5 separate regions of the Homo sapiens genome follow, and all the other regions are linked to region 4. Evidence: promoter capture Hi-C in 16 types of primary human blood cells and fetal thymus (Javierre and others, 2016). All regions are on one chromosome and are shown on one strand. Each heading gives the region's core, a stretch centred on a gene start or on the middle of the fragment in contact. The rest is flanking DNA. Distances are from core to core; before and after follow the strand shown.

Region 1 (2,700 bases), core at 102-2,601, 370 kb after region 4:
TTAACGGTTACCTCGGCTGAGCGAAACCCTTGGCTGCTGCTGATTTAACTACAGGTCCGCGCGAGTTACTTTCCAGGGAACTGAATTCAGAACAAAGAGTTACCGAAGCCTTACTCCCTCTCCAAAATTAGAATTCCCTTTTTCTCTTAGTCATATAGGAAACACACAGTTCACAAGTCCTGTGGTGCAAAGGTGTGAACCCTGGCCCAGGGAGGTGGTGACTCTCCCCGCCCTCCGCCTGCCGGTTGTCCTGCTTCCGAAAGCAACCCACGACGGTCCCGCAGGGTGAGGGTTCCCTGGGATCAGTTCCCTGGGATCCGGAGAACGCCACGCGGAGTCTCCCTGCAGGGTGAGGGGCCCCGGGTTCCCGCCCCCTCCCCCTCTACTCTCCCATTCTGCGAGCGCAGCCAGCCTCCCCTCCCACGCTTCGGGAAGCGTCGCCCCCGAGCTCCTCGGTTCCTGGTGGTGGCTACTCGTGTTAGTGACTTCGTTTCTGCGCGTTTGCTTATTTTCATCTTTGCCTCAGTTCGAATGTGTCCCCGCCACCAGGCCCCGCTGCTGGGCGAGACCACTGAACCCCCTGAAAGCTTCCCCGGAGCCGCGCGCATAATCCCGGGACCCTCTCTGGAAGGCGTGCGGAGAGCGGTGCGCGTGGCCTGGCACCGGAAGGAGCCAGCTTCCGGGCTCCGAGGCACCCCCTGGACAGCGCCCCGGGCCGCGGGTTCCTCCTCCGATGCCCGGGCGTCGTCGCCGGGATCGGGAGCTTCGGGGGCCCGCCGGCACCGACGGTTTTCGCTTCCCTGGCGGGCAGCTGGACGAGGTCCCGCCGCTGCACCGGGAGGGACAGTGGGTGGAAAAAGCCGCTGCAGCGCCGGGGCGAGGGGGCTGGGGGCGCCGTCACTTGTTGCGACCAATAAACGGCGCTCGATCCTGATGCGCTGTTTCTAAAATCTTTAGCTGTGTCCCGATCCCTCCAACCCAAGCCCCTCGGCCAGGAGGAAGGGGCAAGCGAGAGCCGCTGGCTCTGTGGGGGGAGAGGGGCGCCGCGCCCCAAGAGCCCCCGTCCCGCCCTGCGGCAGCCGCCCCGGGGCGCCCAGCCGCCCGCTTCCCTCCGCAGAGCGTCTTCCCTGACGGTGAAACCGCGCGGGACACAACCCACCGCGGCTCATCACCCACTTACAAATAGCTGTCGCTAGGATTCCCGCCACTCCTCTCAGACCGGCCCCCCCGCCACCTCTGCCACTTTTCGGAGTCCCCCGCCCTCGTCACTGCCTCCCCGGAGCTGCGGGGCAGTCGGACGCAGAGCTGCCTAACCGCAAGAACGCCTGGCCGGAGCTGCCCTCTGCAGCCGAGCCGGCGCCCCCTGCCCTTCGCCGCCGCGCTGGGCGGGCGCCCCCGCCGCCCTCACTCCGCTGCTCCCGGCTCCTCGCGCGCAGGTCGCGGAGCTCCGCCACCGCTGGGTGCGGCGAGGCCGGCGCGATGCGGCAGCTGTGCCGGGGCCGCGTGCTGGGCATCTCGGTGGCCATCGCGCACGGGGTCTTCTCGGGCTCCCTCAACATCTTGCTCAAGTTCCTCATCAGCCGCTACCAGTTCTCCTTCCTGACCCTGGTGCAGTGCCTGACCAGCTCCACCGCGGCGCTGAGCCTGGAGCTGCTGCGGCGCCTCGGGCTCATCGCCGTGCCCCCCTTCGGTCTGAGCCTGGCGCGCTCCTTCGCGGGGGTCGCGGTGCTCTCCACGCTGCAGTCCAGCCTCACGCTCTGGTCCCTGCGCGGCCTCAGCCTGCCCATGTACGTGGTCTTCAAGCGCTGCCTGCCCCTGGTCACCATGCTCATCGGCGTCCTGGTGCTCAAGAACGGCGCGCCCTCGCCAGGGGTGCTGGCGGCGGTGCTCATCACCACCTGCGGCGCCGCCCTGGCAGGTGAGCGGGCCCCCGCGCCGACCCCCAGCCGACCCCACCCACCCCGCTCCGTCGGGCAGAGACCGCGGGGATCACTGAGTTCAACGACCTCACTTCCAGATGGGGAGACTGAGGCAGAGAGAGCCGGAGAGCTTTGAGAGTGGTCGCTCAGCTCGCAAAAGGGACTTCCGAGACCCAGAGAGCTCCCCAGCGCCCCACCAAGTCCCCCTGCCCCCTAATGTCCTGGCTTCCGACCCTCGCCCATGCTTCACCCGGCATCGCCCTTCCTGTCGCCCCCTCTCCTGGTCTTCCCCTGTCACCCCATTCTCCGGGAGAGGTGGGAGGGCCGCCTGAGCCTGGGAGCTGGAGTCCTCCAAGCCTGGACCAAGCCGGAAGGAGGGGGCCGTGAACTTCCTTGGGTCACGAGGGGCTGGAATGGAGGTGGGGGATGGGGGCGAAGCTGAGGGTTCCCGGGGCTACTGCGGGGTGTCTCGTGCTGCGCAGGGGGCTGCGGCCCTGGGGCAGACGACCCAGGTGCTGAGCGAGACGAGAGCCTGGGCAGGGGGAAGCTTCACTGGGGGCCAGAACAGGCGTTCTCCCCCGCGCCTGGCCCGCTCCGGGTTGCAGGCCACTGGCTGGGGCTCCCTCTCCCTTTGGTGCCCCACGGGGCAGGGGCTCCGGGGTGCAGGTACCACGCGCCCAAGTGACCTCGGTGCCAGCTCGGGGAAGCCACAGCACCTGCCCCGAGGGCATCTGCGCTCTCCGGGGCCTTTGTCTTGGACAGAGGAAGATGGAGTGACCCG
Region 2 (2,700 bases), core at 105-2,604, 290 kb before region 4:
TCACTCCAAGTTCTATCAGACTTTCATGACTTTTACATCCCATTTTCCAATTAAAAGTACAAATTAAGTTTTAAGTCATTTCTCCCAGCTGACAAATCCCCTTACTGCAGTATCTGAACACGATTACTCAAAAATCTGATTCCTCAGTTATATGCTGAGGTGGTATTACTCTACAAGTCTGTATCTTCAAGCCATTTGAATAGTATGCTGACATTAATCAGTTAATTACTGTAATCTTTTTTTTTTTGAGACAGAGCCTAGCTCTGTCACCCAGGCTGGAGTGCAGTGGCATCATCTCCGCTCACTGCAGCCTCCACCTCCCAGGTTCAAGTGATTGTGGTGCCTAAACCTCCCGAGTAGCTGGGATTACAGGCAAGTGCCATCAGCCCAGCTAATTTTTGTATTTTTAGTAGAGGCGGGGTTTCGCCATGTTGGCCAGGCTGGTCTCGAACTCCTGACCTCGGGTGATCTGTCCGTCTCAGACTCCCAAAGTGCTGGAATTACAGGCGTGAGCCACCACACACAGGCCTATCTTTTTTTAAAGTACATTTGGTAATGATATTCAACTTCTTCCAAAAACAATTCTGGAGTGGGGAAATCTTTTGGTAAGGTAAAAAATAAAAAATAAATTAAACCTGCAGGCTGGATATGTGAGAAGTAAATTAAAATTTAAAAATTCTGGCCAGGCACAGTGGCTCACGCCTATAATCCCAGCACTTTGGGAGGCCGAGAATTAGACTAGCCTGGCCAACATAGTGAAACCCCGTCTCTACTAAAAATACAAAAATTAGCTGGGTGTGGTGGTGCACACCTGTAATACCAGCTACTCAGTAAGCTGAGGTAGGAGAATCGCTTGCACCTGGGAGGCGGAGGTTGCAGTGAGCCGAGCTCGAGCCACTGCACTCTAGTCTGGGTAAGACTCCATCTCAATAAATAAATAAATAAATAAATAAATAAATAAATAAATAATTCAAAGTGCATTTAACATTCTTTTTCACGGCCACCTTACAAGTATCCTGAGAACTCAACAGAAAGTTTAGTTTTCCCTTCTAGTACAAATGAGACTGAAAAATTATTTTCCATAGTGAAGGACTCAAGGTAGCAAATAATCCACTATTCTGGAGGGTGAGTGGTATTTTTTATTTATTGTTGCTCTTCGCATTCCATGAAATTTGTAATCACTATGACAGTACCAAGCAAACACAGTTCAAGCTGTGATTATAAATCATTTCACACCACCTAAACATACAGTGTAGCTATGATCATGTACTTTTATTAAAGGCAGAGCTCATTATTAATGAAATCTGGAAGCTGGCCAACCCCAAAAGATTAAGAAAAATTCGATGTATATTCTTGGGGGAAAGGCATTAAAGCCTGCTCACCCAACCTTTTTCTATTTTCAAGAATATTACCTTCTGCACTTCATAAGTGCTACAAATCAGTTCACTGTGGTAAAACACCAAAAATATCCATAGGAAAAATTTTCCTATATACAGATTACAATTAAGACACATTATTTGAATGTTTCTAGTTGTGGTGGAATGCTATCCTAATAATGCCTGTTCTCTTTAATCAGTGAGATTCATTTTTAAAGGCCAAGGTATAGTCTAGTAACATAAAAAGAACTGGTACCCTTAATTAAATGTACAAGTTTGGTCTCATTACCATCATTGACACAAGTTAATCATTACTGCATGTTTCTAAAACAATAGGAGTCCAGCTCATAAATCAACACAATCTCTGTGGCTCTCAAGTCAATTAAATACAACTAGATTCCATATATTCCTGAATCCTAAGAAATGTAAAACTTGTTCATTTAAACTTCATTAGGACAGTGTACTAATTTTTAGTATCTACCCCAATAAAATTTGAAACATTTAATAATAGTATCAACTATTTGAGAACTCTAAACATGTAATGGATATTACTTTCTCATTTTAAGGCTCAAGAGATTGAGTCTAGCCAAATTAATCCCAATGACAATGAAGTTTATTCCTCCATTTGCCTTTCCTCTTCAACTCTGTAAATTGAGAAAGGCCTCTGAACTTCTCTTTCTGGATGTGAAAGTCTATTATTCCACAAGGAAACTTAAGGTACATCCCCACCAATGGGATTCCAGTTGAAACCCAGAAAAAGAAAAATAAGAAAAGTTAAACAAATGTTAATAATGCAGCATACTTTTATATAAGAAATTTGTATATAACATTACAATTATCCAGTATAATTAAGCTACCAATGATCTTACACAACACTTTACATGCATATGTATGTACACACAGAGTTATTTCTCTCACAGAATTTTTAAGGACTAATTTGCCATTTGTATGAGTCAAAATGTGTCAGTTTGTCTTAGTACACAAATTTCTGTGAAAATGCTTTGTTAAAACTGACAGGATGGCACATGGTAAGAATTATACCACATCTTACTTAAAGTGAATGAAAAGACAATTCTTTTTACTTATTTACTAGCTACTATGTTTTTAGAAAGAGAAGTAATCACCATATTATGGGTGATAAGGTCCCAGATTAACGTAAGAAAACGAGGACTAAACTGGACATCCAGAATTCCTTTATTTCAAAATAATTTTGGCTTAGATTTACCAACTGTAAAATTTCCCATTTTCCCAGGGGAGACAAGGGAAAAACAAAAACAAAAACAAAAACAAAAACAAAAACAAAAACAAGACAAAACAAAAAAAC
Region 3 (2,700 bases), core at 58-2,557, 310 kb before region 4:
AGTATAAAATTTCAGTTATGCAAGATGAAAAAGCTCTAGAGATCTGTTGTACAACATTGTGCTTAACGATACTGTATTATACACATAAAAATTTGTTAACAGAATAGAGCTCATTATGTTTTTTCACCACACACACACACACACACACACACACACATGGAACTCAGAGAGGCAATTATTAACTCTAAAAAAATTATTCAACAAATAAAATGTAGTCAAAATATATGAAATGGGGCCAGGCACAGTGGCTCACACCTGTAATCCCAGCGCTTTGGGAGGCCAACATGGGCAGATCGCTTGAGCTCAGGAGTTAGAGACCAGCCTGGGCAACATGGCGAAACCCCATCTCTACAAAAAAATACAAAAATTAGCCAGGCATGGTGGCACATGCCTATAGTCCCAGCTACTAAGGAAGCTGAGGTGGGAGGATCACTTGAGCCCAGGAGGTCGAGGCTGCAGTGAGCTGTAATTTCAACACTGCCCTACAGCCTGGGTTACAATATGAGAAATGGCTTACTGTGGATGTTCACTGTTATAATAAGGATATTAATTCTGAATACTCATTTAACTAAAGATTGTGGTTTAACTATTTCAGGAAGACGTGGCAAGATGTGTGTGTGTGTCCTGGGTAGAGTATCTAAGAAAATATATTCCTAATATCCTACAATTGGAAGTCAACATAATTAAAATATCAAGAAATAGCAAATAAGTATGTTGTTTCAAAAATATGGTGATAAGAGACTAGAAGAAGAAATAGTCAAAAATAATTGAATGTCATTATCTCTAGGAGAGGTATTCAGGGGTGAAGAAGAATAAGAAAAAAGACATATATGTTAATTTTCATAAACATAATAATTTTTCTAAACATAAAATTGACAAAATTTCAGTTCACTTTTCAAATTACAACAACATACCGCTCAATTGCACGAAGCTTAACCTTATTCATATCCTTTAGAACGTCCAACATGTTTGGAATATCTTTATTTCTCTGGCTTTTTGAATGATGACTATAATTGGTCTTATTAGCAGCCGGGTTCTGTTTGCTCATTTCAGTTGCTGGATTATCTGAGTCACAAATATTATTAGATCCTGGTTGTACGGGAGGAAAACACGGTGGCTGGAGAGATGAAAACTGAGGAGGAAGTGGTGGAGGAGGAGGAGGAGAAAGCACTGAACCTGGAAGCTGATCTGGGTCCACACTCAGATGGGCAGCCCGCGATGATGACAGCTGACCCAAACTAATGCGCTCGTCACTCAAGCCAAAGGAACCTACAAACAAAGTGGTTTATTACAAAATCATGCACAATTATCTCTAACGTAATATATATTAATAACACTAATTAGAACCAAAACAGGAGCAATTTCTGTAATGCTAGTAGCGATATGGTAGCAAGGAAAGAGTGTCAATCCCATCTGCTTAGTAATTTAAGAGTCAAGTCAAATTGTGAATTCATTTTTAATCCAGTTAGGAATTTTCAGTGTAGGTCCAAGAGCAGAGCGGGGAGGAGAATGCATCTTAAACAAACAAAAAAAAGAGTTTTTTCAGTAATTCACATACACTCTGAACTTCATCCTCTATTTTAAAAAAGCTAAAACAGAAATCAACAACTTGTAGTTAGAAACACAAATTGATGTATTCACTGTATAATGACATTGGAGAAATAAGCATATTATTTTCTAAGCAAAGCTTAAGATGGGTACTGAGTATTTAACTTTTCCACTTTAAGATTTGCTCATAAAGGACTGTGGGTAAACACGATTGCTTAAGAAAACTGTGTATAGTTATATATCATTTTATTTATTATGTATAAATATAAGTTATTGTATATTATATAATGTGTTTATATGTAAATGTTATAAATATACACTGTATAAATATCTTAAATTATATGTGTATTTATGCATTTGTATATATACATATGTATTAAAAAATTTTTAGCAATTATATTTACACACAGCCCTTTACAGCCAAATCTGTTGTGAAAAGCATTCAGTACCTAGATTGCTTTACATTTTATACACGCATACATACATGTTGTGTGTATGTGTGTGCATAAGTTTAAAGCAAGTTGTATCTCTATAAATTTATAAAACAATCATCTGGAAAACATGACTCACCTCAACTTGGTGGAAGTGTAGCAGCAATAACTAAAAACTATAAACATATGATGCCTCAAACCTATATCCTCTTTCAAACCAATGCATTCTTCCTCTTTAATATCCAATGCTTTCATGAAGAGTTAGAAAAGCTTACTGAGGGCCGGGCGCGGTGGCTCACGCCTGTAATCCCAGCACTTTGGGAGGCCAAGGCGGGCAGATCACGAGGTCAGGAGATCGAGACCATCCTGGCTAACACGGTGAAACCCCGTCTCTACTAAAAATACAAAAAATTAGCCGAGCGTGGTGGCGGGCGCCTGTAGTCCCAGCTACTCGAGAGGCTGAGGCAGGAGAATGGCGTGAACCCGGGAGGTGGAGCTTGCAGTGAGCCAAGATCGTGCCACTGCACTCCAGCCTGGGCGACAGAGCAAGACTGCGTCTCAAAAAAAAAAAAAAAAAGCTTACTTAGAAGACAACAGACTTTTTAATACAAAAATACAATCTTCTAGTATAGTAAAGCTAGTTCTTCTTTAAATCAAAGCCATCCCCTCACTACAAATGTGTCTTAATTTATCCTGAATAAACATCAGATATAATAATTTT
Region 4 (2,700 bases), core at 24-2,523:
ACTGTTTCAGAGCTCTCTGGACCTTTCACGTTAAAATAAGCATACTTGATGGTGGGGAGACAGTGATTCTTACATTTAGGAAACAAATGCTTCCGATTGTGACCGTATGGAAGTGGAAAACAGCTTGCAATTGGAGAGTCTAAGAATTGAATTTCTTTTTAAAGTAAGAAACTGCCTCACTGCCCCCATCCCCAAGTGTAGGAAGATATAGAAACAGCTTACTGGCCAAGAATAGAAGAGGGAACCAGTGGAGAGGGACGGATTTGCAAGATAGCCTCTGGAGAAAAAAAAATCACGAGGGAGAAAAATCGGCTTCATACTATGGAGAGATGGGCGGGGTTGGGAAGCCTTGCTGCTGGTCTTGGGAAGCCTTGCTGCTGGTCTTGGGGACGTGATCCCCTGTCCCTAAGTGTGCCCCTGGAGGTTGTGGGGGAGGGGTATCCTCAACACAGAGGCCTGACCACCAAATCCCGGGCTGCAGAGCCAACAATCCTCCTTTGGGCTCCTGCACAGACTAAAAACAAAAAACTCTGAGAACTCCGACAAGTCAACGAAAGTCTGATCCCGTCAAGCCCGCACTCGCAAACCCCCACCGTGCTGCACTGGGCCCCGGCCCTCCCGAGCTCGGTCCCCTCGGACGACGGTCGTCGCCACTGCGGGCACCAGATTGGGGGGCGGGCCGCTCACCCCGCGGTCCTGCCCCACACCGACCCCGCTGAGGAGCCCCCGGCACCCGGGGCGACCAGGGAAGGCGGGAGGAGGTGCCCAGAAACTGCTCGTCCTGCCAGTCGCACCTGGCCGACGACTCTCTGGCCACTGGTTTGGTCTGGGGGATACGATTTCCCATTCAACTGAATTAGACCCGAGGCCGCGGCGGGGAGGGCAGCGGCCGGGGTCTCTCCGTTTCCTCCCCCGGCTCGCCTCCACCTGTTGCGGGAAAGTCGCGGTGGAGCGCCCGAGGGCGGCCGCAACCCCGGCCGGGGCCGAGCCGGGCTGGCCGAGCCGCGGCGGCGAAGGGCGGGGGAAGGCGCTCTCGGAGCAGGGTGCGCGGCGCGCAGGGCCGGTTGTTCCGGGCCGCGGCCGCGCGGGCGGGGAGGGGGCTGCCGGCGCCGGGTGATTTCGGTGCCAGCCCGCCGGCCCCGCTCGCCGTCCCCTGCCCGACGGGACCCCCACTATCCCCGCTGTGCGGTCACCTGTTTCGCTTCGCACTGCGCCGTCGCCGCCCCTGTGGCCGTCGCCGCCAGCTCCTAGCTCCGCCATGGTGCTCCGATGACGCGCCCGGAGAGCCGCTCCGCCCTTTCCTCGGCTTGGCTCCCGCCGGCCCCCGCCTCCCAGGCCAGCGGCCCAGACAGGTGAGCGCAGTCCGGGGATGGCGGAGGGCGGGGACAGAGAGCGCGGCAGTCGGCTGCGGCCTGGGCCTGGCGCGCCCCCTCGCGGGCAGGTGCGGCGTGGCAGCCGCTCCGACCGCCGCTGCCGAGTCTCGGCTGGAAGAGCGGCGGGCGGAACCAGTACCTCAGTCCGGAGCTTCCGGTCGCCGCGGCCGACCAGCTGAGGGCTCCCGGAGATATGGAGCGGGGTCAGCGAGGCCTGGTGGCGCCTCCTGGAGTCTGGGACGAGCGGCGGTCCGAGGAGCAGCCCAGGTGGGGCGAGGGTACGGAGACGCTATTTCCCTCCGAACTCTGAAGTAGCCAGGTCAGTGTCGGCTCCGCGAGGGCTGGAGTTCACGGTGACAGCCGGCAGAGCATCTGATGCCACGTGGAGAGGCGAAGTACATGGGTCGGATTCCACGCTGGGAGCCGGCCTGGATCTGCGCTTTAGGAAGCCACTGCGGGCGACCCTATCTTGTCGCCAGGACTTCGCATCTGATGAGCCTCAGGGCACACAAGTTAGAGAGGCTTGTGCCGGCTGATGTGGCTTTTCTTTTTCTTAGTTTCCGTTTAGTAAACGACCTTGTGACTTCTGGCTTGCTCAGGAAGACCAGAAAAAAAGGCAATAGGTAACGAATTTTTCTTTTTTTAAAGAAACAGATTATTGGCCGAGGAAAAACCAATTTCGCTCTAAAGGATAAGCAACAAAATACTGAGGGGGGAAAAAGCCTACACAAATGGAAACATACGGCACAAAATCAAGGAGCGACCAGTTCCGCATGGTTACACTAAAATGCACTGCACTCCCACTCTCTGGCTTGGCTGAAGATAACCAGCAAGCTCTGAACAGTTTAAAAGCCTTCCAAGGACTGCAGCAGCACTGGACACACAAGAGAGTCGAGAACAGTATTGGATTTATTGTTAGGGTTACAATTTTCACGATCTTTGCATGCAAAACTTGCCACTCTGAGCCCAGTGAACTATTTTTATTTGGTTTACTTACTGGCTTTCTGGATGACTAGGTAGAGCTTTAACTAAAGAACACTTCTGCTGTGGTCTGTGATGATGAATTTTCCCGTAGTGTCATTTCTATAATGGAATAGGCAAACTGACCATTTAGAATGTGATATTCCTAAATCACATTCAAATCAGTCTTATCAGAGACTTCTAATCAATAAAAATAAAGCACCAGATGGCTAGAGGTAGTTTTTGACCTCAGCTTGGGCCTCAGCAAAGATTTTTTGTGTTTTTTTTAACTACATTAAAACATCAGAGTTTAAGACACTTTTCTTTGAGCATCAGAAATACTCTCAGCTGAATTTAGAGTTGAACT
Region 5 (2,700 bases), core at 8-2,507, 270 kb before region 4:
ACTGCCCACAGATTATTTACTGGGCATCAATATGGAATTACCTGTTAGAATCATCAAGAGGAACAGGTGCCATTTTGAGTTTGACTTCAGGACGGTGAGAATCACTCGCTATCATTTTGATCCTAAGTGGGCTTTCCTCTCTGAAGGTAGACTTTTCTCGTGCATCCAGATTCTTGTGTAGAGGGGGACTGTAATCAAAGAGGTCTTTGAGCTTTTCAGACTTTACCTGCTCAGGTGACTGAGTTTCTTTCTTTACTGTTATTCTTTCAGAATTTTTGTCTTCTTCTTTGTGCTTATCTTTTGTAGTGCTAGGCCTTTCCACTACATATCCAGTCTCTTTAAGTTTATAATTTTTTTCTTCTCTAAATCCATCACTTTCTCTATTGCCTTTCAGTGAAACTTTGGACTTGTACTTGAGTCCTTCCTCCTCAGTATTCCGGTGAGATGCAGTAGCAAAACTTTTACCCTGATCTGCGAGGACTGACTTCCTGAACTGTCTATAATCCTCTGTCTCCTCTGTGTCATCCCCTTCTGAATCATTAAACTTTTGTTTTCCAGACTCTTTATCACTGAAGTAATCTAGAGCTTCCTGATCTTCCCATTCTCCCTCTGCCCTCCCTTTCTCTGATCCTTTCTCTTTTGAAGCCTCTTTATCCCTGGTATTACCCCTATCAAGCAGGAATACTCTAGACTCTTCATCTGTGAACCTGCGAATAAGCAAAGAAGAGGATAGTAACTCTGGATTGCATTCACTGTAGATCGCTTCCATATTTAAATGTGTTGCCCAATCCCTCAGGACCAGCAAGAGAGAAAATAACCCTATTGAAAAGTGCTTTTTCAGATTCCACTTTTAAAAATCATTGAAAGCATCCATATAGAACTTATGTACTGACTTTTAAAATAAATTTACATTTGACTTCTGAAGTTTAAAACACAAAGCCAATCACAAAAACCTGTCCTATTTAGTCACAATCCACAATTCTGCACTAACACGAACTTCTAGAGATTGCCTAAATTTAATTTTTGAAACTAAGAACCACTAATAGATAATACATTGTTAGAATTCTATTGATAATTATCCCCAAAATTCCAGATATTATCTATTAATATAAACAAGAGTTCACACAAATGGATTTAATTACCACTGCAGTAATTTAATACTTTATGAAAATCACAGAACAGTTCATATAAACTTGCTCTAGAAAAATAATGATTTCTGGCACTATTTCATAGAAACTAATGATCAGTTCAATCATAAATTCTAGATTGTGCAGTGCTATTCCACAAACAGCATGTTTCCTCTATTTTCTCACTTTTAAGTCAAATCACAATACATGAAGCAACCAATTTTCACTGTTAGCAACTTTCAGCAACACTTGAAATCAGAATTTAAACAATGTATCTGTTTCAAATGTCATTAGTCAGTGAGAAATACCATTACCTTTTGTATAGTCAGGCTGAAATCATTAAATATTGACAGCCAGACTGTTTATGCCACCTAAGAACATGCAATATAGCTGCATTATTTATGTAGGTCACATTCTAATAGTGAAAAGAACAAAATAAGCCTTCAATGCTTTAAGAAACTTAATTTCTAAAAGGTTTACAGTTATTAGCAACATATATCATTTAGTTATGCTCTAAGCTACTCAACTTCTCCTCATCTGTATTTTTAATTCTGGACCGAAAATGGTAAAATTAAGAGGAGGGATAGAAATTAGGTTTTTTTAATTCTTTTTAAAGAGACAGGGTCTTGCTCTATCGCCCAGGCTGGAGTGCAGTAGGCGCAATCATAGCTCACCACAGCCTTGAACTCCTGGGCTCAAGAGATCCTCCCGCCTCAGCCTCCTGAGTAGCTGGATAAATTAATTTTTATTAAAACACTTAGCTTCCAAAGTTCACCAGATAAGAGTAAAAACAATTTGGAATTATCTTAAAATGAAGGAAGTCAAGAGTAAAAACCGCTAGTTAAATACATATCACAATTTTACGTTTATAATTCCAAACAGAATTCAAAGAACAAAAACAATATTATAATCTAGATTCTGTATTTTAGTTTTTACCTTTTTAAGAACTTCCCAGTCTTTGCAGTTTCCTGATCTCCACCATCAGGATAAAACGAGGAACGGCCCCTAGACTCATCTCTTGGAGCATTCTGTGGTGCGATTGTCTTTGCAGGACTTCTTCGTGAAGGGATGTGATGAATTGGACTATTCTGAGAAGGACTGTATCGACTAGATCCATTTCCAACAGAACCAGACCCAGACCTTTCAGGACTATGCTGAATGGAATGTGAATGCTGAGAAGGAGTATTTTTTGCAGAGTGAACTGTACTGAGCATGGGAGCATCAGAGCAAGATGAACTCTGACTAGGTGGTGTAGCAATAGGTGAAGGACTATGGGGTGATCTAGGACTATTATCATAAGCTGAAAGGCCAGGCCAAATATCACCGGATGTGGCTGATGACTTATTAAATTCATCGATAGACTCAGATGGGTCATGTTCAAATGTATCTTTCGGTTCCTCCTGTGATTTACTTTTCAACGGACTCTCTTCTTGGGGTTCCCCTTCAGCTTTTTTGGTTTGTTTTTCCTGAGACCCTCGTCTTTTAGAAACAGGAGATTTGCTATATGGGGATGAAGAACGAGAAGAGGATGATCTTGGAGACCTAGAAGATCTATATGACCGGCGAGATCTGC

What was found. The method cuts DNA at HindIII sites, captures the fragments that hold promoters and counts their contacts. A CHiCAGO score of 5 or more calls a contact.
Region 1: the fragment with the promoter of SLC35D3 here is called in contact with the fragment with the promoter of MAP7 in region 4 in 9 of 17 cell types (total CD4 T cells, endothelial precursors, erythroblasts and 6 more); the score reaches 14.4 in total CD4 T cells.
Region 2: a fragment that was not itself captured here is called in contact with the fragment with the promoter of MAP7 in region 4 in 1 of 17 cell types (megakaryocytes); the score reaches 5.1 in megakaryocytes.
Region 3: a fragment that was not itself captured here is called in contact with the fragment with the promoter of MAP7 in region 4 in 1 of 17 cell types (megakaryocytes); the score reaches 5.4 in megakaryocytes.
Region 5: a fragment that was not itself captured here is called in contact with the fragment with the promoter of MAP7 in region 4 in 2 of 17 cell types (megakaryocytes and M2 macrophages); the score reaches 8.4 in megakaryocytes.

Annotation. Positions count from the first base shown.
Region 1 is chr6:136,920,950-136,923,649 of GRCh38, forward strand. SLC35D3 (solute carrier family 35 member D3) reads left to right here and starts at 1,352. Exons shown (of 2, transcript NM_001008783.3): 1 at 1,352-1,918. The coding sequence starts at 1,480. RefSeq lists an enhancer at 374-880. The HindIII fragment of the contact is 1,879 bases long and covers 586-2,464 here.
Region 2 is chr6:136,255,742-136,258,441 of GRCh38, forward strand. BCLAF1 (BCL2 associated transcription factor 1) reads right to left here. Exons shown (of 13, transcript NM_014739.3): 13 at 886-2,700. Among named protein-coding and RNA genes, the nearest start is that of MTFR2, 6.8 kb to the left of the region's middle. The HindIII fragment of the contact is 5,895 bases long and covers 1-2,700 here.
Region 3 is chr6:136,238,552-136,241,251 of GRCh38, forward strand. It overlaps MTFR2 (mitochondrial fission regulator 2), which reads right to left. Exons shown (of 8, transcript NM_001099286.3): 6 at 915-1,269. Among named protein-coding and RNA genes, the nearest start is that of MTFR2, 10 kb to the right of the region's middle. The HindIII fragment of the contact is 756 bases long and covers 930-1,685 here.
Region 4 is chr6:136,549,149-136,551,848 of GRCh38, forward strand. MAP7 (microtubule associated protein 7) reads right to left here and starts at 1,274. Exons shown (of 18, transcript NM_003980.6): 1 at 1,194-1,274. The coding sequence starts at 1,260. It overlaps MAP7-AS1 (MAP7 antisense RNA 1), which reads right to left. Exons shown (of 1, transcript NR_186370.1): 1 at 1,575-2,700. RefSeq lists enhancers at 110-648, 1,187-1,724 and silencers at 946-995, 1,006-1,185, 1,226-1,575. The HindIII fragment of the contact is 6,247 bases long and covers 1-2,700 here.
Region 5 is chr6:136,275,802-136,278,501 of GRCh38, forward strand. BCLAF1 (BCL2 associated transcription factor 1) reads right to left here. Exons shown (of 13, transcript NM_014739.3): 4 at 2,064-2,700; 5 at 42-707. Among named protein-coding and RNA genes, the nearest start is that of BCLAF1, 13 kb to the right of the region's middle. The HindIII fragment of the contact is 6,928 bases long and covers 1-2,700 here.